2 separate regions of the Homo sapiens genome follow, and region 1 is linked to region 2. The links are contacts of gene promoters, found by promoter capture Hi-C in human tissues and cell types (Jung and others, 2019). All regions are on one chromosome and are shown on one strand. The core of a region is centred on a gene start or on the middle of the fragment in contact, and the rest is flanking DNA. Distances in the headings are between cores, read along the strand shown. Region 1 has its middle 100 kb from the start of UNCX. Region 2 holds the start of UNCX (UNC homeobox).

Region 1 (2,952 bases), core at 234-2,733, 100 kb before region 2:
AGAGACCAATGCCCAGTGCTGACTCAGGGCTGGGAGATGTGTTCTCCCCAGCCAGACTCATGATGGAAAAACTCATTGTTTGCAGGTCCCTAGGAAGAATGTTCAGGAAGGTGTTGCCTCAGTCGTGAGGAATAATTAGCACCAGACTGCTCCAGATGCACTAAACTGACAACAACAGCAAGACTGGAAAAGATCACACTGTTTCTTTCTTTCTTTCTTTTTTAGACTGAGTCTCGCTCTGTCACCAGGCTGGAATGCAATGGCACCATCTTGACTCACTGCAACCTCCAACTCCCTGGTTCAAGTGATTCTCCTGCCTCAGCCTCCCGAGTAGCTGCGATTACAGGCATGCACCACCACGCCCAGCTGATTTTTGTATTTTTAGTAGAGACAGGGTTTCACCATGTTGGCCAGTAAGATCTCGATCTCCTGACCTCGTGATCCGCCCACCTCAGCCTCCCAAACTGTGGGGATTGCAGGCGTGAGCCACCACACCCAGCCTTTTTTTTTTTTTTTTTTTTTGAGATGGAGTCTCTGTCACCCAGGCTGGAGTGCAATGGCACCATCTTGACTCACTGTAACCTCCGCCTCCCAAGTTCAAGCAATTCTCCTGCCTCAACCTCCTGAGTAGCTGGGATCACAGGTACCCGCCATCATGCCCAGCTAATTTTTATATTTTTATAGAGATGGGGTTTCACCATGTTGGCCAGGCTGGTCTAGAACTCCTGACCTCAGGTGATCCACCCACCTCTGCCTCCTAAAGTGCTGGGATTACAGACATGAGCCACCATGCCCGGCCAGATCACACTGTTTCTAAGTAACCTGACTACATCCCAAAATACAGCCTCAGGTATATTTATAGGAATACAAAAATATCAAGCAACCAGTGAGGCAAAGTTCACAATGTCTAGCATCCAATCAAAGATTATCAGGCATTAACAGAAACTGAAAAACATGACCCACAATAAGGAGAATAATTGATCAATGGAAACTGACCCAAGAACTGACACAGATGTTAGAATGAGCAGACAGGCTTCACTATATGTTCAAAAAGTGAAGTAGAAACATGGAAGATGTAGGCTGGATGAGGTGGTTCACACCCATTACCCCAGCACTTTGGGAGGCTGAGGTGGGAGGATTGCTTGGGGCTAAGAGTTCAAGACCAGCCTGGCCAACATAGCAAGACCCTGTCTCTACAAAATCTTTAAAAATTAGCTGGAAATGGGGGTGCATTCCTGTAGTCCCAGGTACTTGGGAGGCTGATGCAGGAGGATCACTTGAGTTCAGGAGTTTGAGGCTACAGTGAGTTATTGTCATGCTATTGCACTCCAGCCTGGGTAACAGAGAGAGACGAAAGAAAGGAAAGAAAGAGAGAAAGAGAGAGAGGAGAGAAAGAAAAGAAAGGAGAAAGAGAGAGAAGAGAGAAAGAAAAAGAAGAAAGAAAGAAAGAAAGGAAAGAGAGAGGAAAGAAAGAAAGAAGGAGAGAGAGGAGGGAGGGAGGGAAGGGAGGGAGGGAGGAAAGAAGGAAAGGAGGGAGGGAGGGAAAAGAAAGAGAAGTGAAGGAGAAAGAAAGGAAGAAAAGAAACATAGAAGATATAAAAGAGAGAGGAAAGAAAGAAAGAAAGAAAGAAAGAAGGAGGGAGAGGAGGGAGGGAGGGGAGGGAGGAAAGGAGGGAGGGAGGGAAAAGAAGAGAGAGAGAAAGAAGTGAAGGAGAAAGAAAGGAAGAAAAGAAACATAGAAGATATAAAAATGACCAAATTGAACTTATAGTTGTGCCAACTACAATGTCTTAGATTTAAAAATACACTAGATGGCAATGATAGAAGATCAGACATGTCAGAAGAAGCTATTCAGAATGAAGAATAAATCATTTTATTTTAATTACAAACATCAGCAAGTTGTGGGACAGCTTCAAGCAGCCTAATGTGTAGGTAATTGGAGTTCCTGAAGGAGAGGGGAGAGAAAAAAATATTTTGAAGAGCTAATGGCTGAAAATTTACCAAATGTGATCAAAGTTATAAACTCATGGATAAAAAGTCTGACATACCCCAAGTTTAAGAAATATGATGAAAAGTACATGCAGGTATATCATTATGAAATTACTTAAAGGAAGCTTTTTTTTTTTTTTGAGATGGGGTCTTGCTCTGTCACCCAGGCTGGAGTGCACTCGTGCAATCACAGCTCACTGCAGATTCTGCCTGCTGAGCTCAAGGGATCCTCCCACCTCAGCCTCCTGAGTAGCTGAGACTACAGGTGTGCACCACCAAACCCAGCTAATTTTTTAGATTTTTTGTAAAGATGAGGTTTCACCATGTTGGTCAGGCTGGTCTCGAACTCCTGACCTCAGGTGATCCACCCACCTTGGCCTCCCAAAGTGTTGGGATTACAGGTATGAGCTACTGTGCCCAGCCAAGAAAAATCTTAAAAGCAAAGAAAAGACACATAGAGATAAAACACACAGAAAGTTAAAAATAAGAATGACAGCAGGTTTTTTTTCAGTGGAAATATTAAAGCCAGACACCGGAGCAACATCTTGAAAGTACTGAAAACCCTTCCAACCTAGAATTCTATACCCAGCAAAACTATTTTTCAGAACTGACAATGAAATAAAGATATTTTCATGAGTTTCAAGTCAAGGCTAAGTGGAAAAATTTTTAAAAATAAAAAACATTTTCAGACAAACAACAGCTGAAATAACTCATCAGCAGCACACGTGTACTACGAGAAACATTAAAGGAAGTCCTTCAAGCTGATAGAAATGTGAATTTACACAAGGAATGAGAGGCACTGGGAATGGTGAGTACATAGGAAAATACATGATTTTTCTGTTATTTTTTAAATGTCTTACAATGATAATTGACTGTTTAAACAAAAATAACAATGTCAGGTTTATAACACATGCATAAGTAAAGTGAATACCGACAATAGCACAAACCCCATGACGGGAGATA
Region 2 (3,085 bases), core at 387-2,886:
CGCACCACAGACCTGGACCCCACACCGCACCCACCGCAGAAAAAGAGGATTTCTTTGCTCCAGGGAAACATTTAATTATGCACAAATCATCTTGGAATTTTTAATCCACCAAGCTGACACTGTATTTTTAAAACAATACCATCAGCCATCTCCAAATGATAGCAAATTTACGGGAAAACAGTCGTAAGAAAAAGATGAGACCGGGGTTATTATTAAAAATTCAGACACCTTTTTTTCTCCCACTTTCTCAATGTGTTAACTGTTTAAGCTTCTGCCTCCCCTTCCTCAGCTGTTCCCTTCTGCAAAGCGATGAATAAATACATGTTTCCATCTGAATATTTTGCAGGCGCAAGGTAAACAGACTCGTTCGCTCCAGGCTGGGTGACAGAGCCTCGCGCGGAAGGTTGAGGCGGTGCGGGGGCGGGGGGGGGTCCCCTTCCCTCTCTCCTCCGGGTCGGAGCCAAGCCGGCCCCTCCTCCCCTCCTCGCCCCTGCCTGGAGACCTCACTTGGCCCGGCCTCCGCCAACCCACCACGCCGCTTCCCGGTTCGGACGCAGCCGCTGTTCTGGTGACTCGGGTGCTGCCGCCGGCCCTTCTCAAGCCGCCCAGGCTTTTGGGGGGCAGTTACCCACCCCGCTGTCCGTGAGGGGCCGAGCCCCAGAACCCCCACCCCTCCACTCTTCCCCAGCAGGCGAGCGCGAAGCGGGCCCGCGGCAAGGGGACGATATCTCGCCACCTGGAACAAAGGCGTCCCGGCGCGCCCAGAGCCTGGGGTCCGGATGGCAGATCCGGGAGCGACGCCGGGTCTTTACCTGAACTCGGGACTCGACCAGGTCTAGGCGCAGCGCCAGCGCCTCGCGCATGAACACGTCGGGATAGTGGCTCTCGTTGAACGCCTTCTCCAGCTCCTCCAGCTGCCAGCCGGTGAAGTTGGTGCGGGTGCGCCGCCGCTTGCAGCCCGGGCTCTCCTTGTCCGGGTCCCCCGAGTCTGCGGGCAGTCACAGGACGCAGCGCGGCTCAGCCACCGGCCCAGGCCCGACCCCCACCCCTCCCTCCCGCTACCCGCTGGCCGCCTGGATCCGGGGGGGGGGGCGCAGAGACGGCCGCCTAGGAGCCGGCTCTCCTTCGCCAGCCCCGGGCCCCCCAGCGCCTCGGCCGGACCAGGGCCCCCGCCCCCAGCCGCACTCCTCCCCGCCCTCCCGCCCGCCGCGCCTACCTGACAGCTTGAAGGGCTGGCCGTCCCCGCCGACCCCGCAGGCGGCTGGCAGCAGCGGCGTGGGGTTGACCACCGAGGCGGCGGCGGCGCACGAGCCCCCGAGCAGGCCGTCGATGGAGAAGGGCACCGAGGCGGCGGCGGCGGCCGACTGCAGCTGGTGCCCGGCCAGCTCGTACACGTGGTGGTGGCCCAGCGGGTAGGGGAAGCCCACCACGCCGCCCAGCGAGCCCCCGAACTGGGCATGCGGGTGTTCCAGGAGGCGGCCGTCCATCATCTCGCGCGGGGGGCCGGCGGGGCCGGTGGCGGGGCGCGGGGGCGCGGGCCGGGGCCGGGGCGGGCCAGCGGCGGGAGGCGCGGGCGGCGGCGGCGGAGACAGGGACCCGGAGCCCCACACATGCTTCGCCCGCACTCCGGCGCTTTACTTATCAACATCAAGCTCCCGATAATTAGCCGCGGCCCGGGGAATTTGGGACCAATAAGAAGCGCTAATCGGCTCTGACGTCAGAGGCGTGCTGGGTGCAGGGAAACGTTTTCCATATCGATTGCTAATTATACCTGACATGCACCTCAATAAACAGTATCAGGAACTGTCACAACAAGACGGGCTGGGGGCGGGGGGAGCCGGAGGGAGGGAGGGAGGGAGGGAGGGGCCGCCCAGGGCCGGGCAGGCGCGGGCTGGTGCCTGGGCCCGGGGCAGGGGCCCCCAGCTAGCCCCCCACTTCACTCGGGGCCGGCCCCGAGCCCGCGCCTCCCGCCAGCCGCCGCCTCCCCGCCCCTCCGCAAATCACTAATAGATTTCCCTTTAAAACATTCAGCGCCGTGTTGTGGGGATTTTTCACCAGAAATGCTGTACTCTCTGAACCTTTAAAGTGATGTTGCTCCAATTACAGAGAGACATTGAGCGGCAAATAGACTGATCCAATAATAGGAGATTCATCATCCGCTTTTCCGAAACTGTCACATTGAATTTAAAACTACAAGGCTTCTCATCTCCTCCTCTCCGGCTGCAGGCGGCGGGAGAGGAGGAAGGAGGAGGAGGAGGAGGAGGAGGGCGATCCCGAAAGAGAAGAACTACAGAATGTAGCACCCTGTCAATAAAGAGGCGTAACTAATGCCCTCTCTGATTGACTGGCAGTCGCCCTATCTACAAAGACAGAGGTGGGGGGGGCTGCGGAGGCTCCCCGACCCCCATCCCCATAAAGCCCGGGCGCAGAGGAGGAGAGAGGGATGGGGACAGGAGGGGAAAAGTAACTTTGGGGTGGGGCCGATCCGCCCCCACCCCCTTACACGCTCGAATAAAGATAAATACATCCGCTCTGACTCGGCCTCTGAAGGATGGGGCTGAAGCACCCAACCCATTTATTATAATTAAATTATGTTCTCAGAGAAGTGTCACTCCCTTCTCTGCTATAAAATATTGATAGACTCAAAGCTAAATCACTAAAGGATATATTCTTAAATAAGCAGCAAATCAGGATTGTGGGCAGCAAGGAAAGAAATGAGGGGATGTCGGTCCATCTCTCTCCTTTGTAAAAAAGTTTGTCAGTGGGGTGGTCGCATTTGGCTGCGGGACCCCAGTGCTGGACTAGTTGGGTTAGGGCCACCTCTCCAGCAGTGAGTGCCCCGAGCCTCGGCCAGCCCAGGGCGGGGAAGAGAGGAGGAGAGCTCCGGCCTGGGCTGGGCCAGTCTGCGGAGCCACCACCACCCCAGGGCAAAGTGACAGACCAGTTGGCTTTGGGTGTAAGTAAGTGACTTGGGCCAGGCCTCCAAGCCCTAGCCCGCGTGAGAGGGAAGGGCAGGCCGGGACCGTGCGCATCTCTGCGTCCCTCCGGGTCAGGTGCCCGTGCCTGGGCCGGGGAGGGTGGGGGG

The links. Contacts are between HindIII fragments. The study calls those that stand out against the background at their distance.
Region 1: a contact is called between a fragment that was not itself captured here and the fragment with the promoter of UNCX in region 2, in 2 of the 25 tissues and cell types used here (IMR-90 fibroblasts and bladder).

The regions. Positions count from the first base shown.
Region 1 is chr7:1,336,308-1,339,259 of GRCh38, reverse strand. No RefSeq gene overlaps it. Among named protein-coding and RNA genes, the nearest start is that of UNCX, 100 kb to the right of the region's middle. The HindIII fragment of the contact is 5,963 bases long and covers 1-2,952 here.
Region 2 is chr7:1,231,423-1,234,507 of GRCh38, reverse strand. It overlaps UNCX (UNC homeobox), which reads right to left and starts at 1,636. Exons shown (of 3, transcript NM_001080461.3): 1 at 1,217-1,636; 2 at 813-988. The coding sequence starts at 1,490. RefSeq lists an enhancer at 87-631. The HindIII fragment of the contact is 11,886 bases long and covers 1-3,085 here.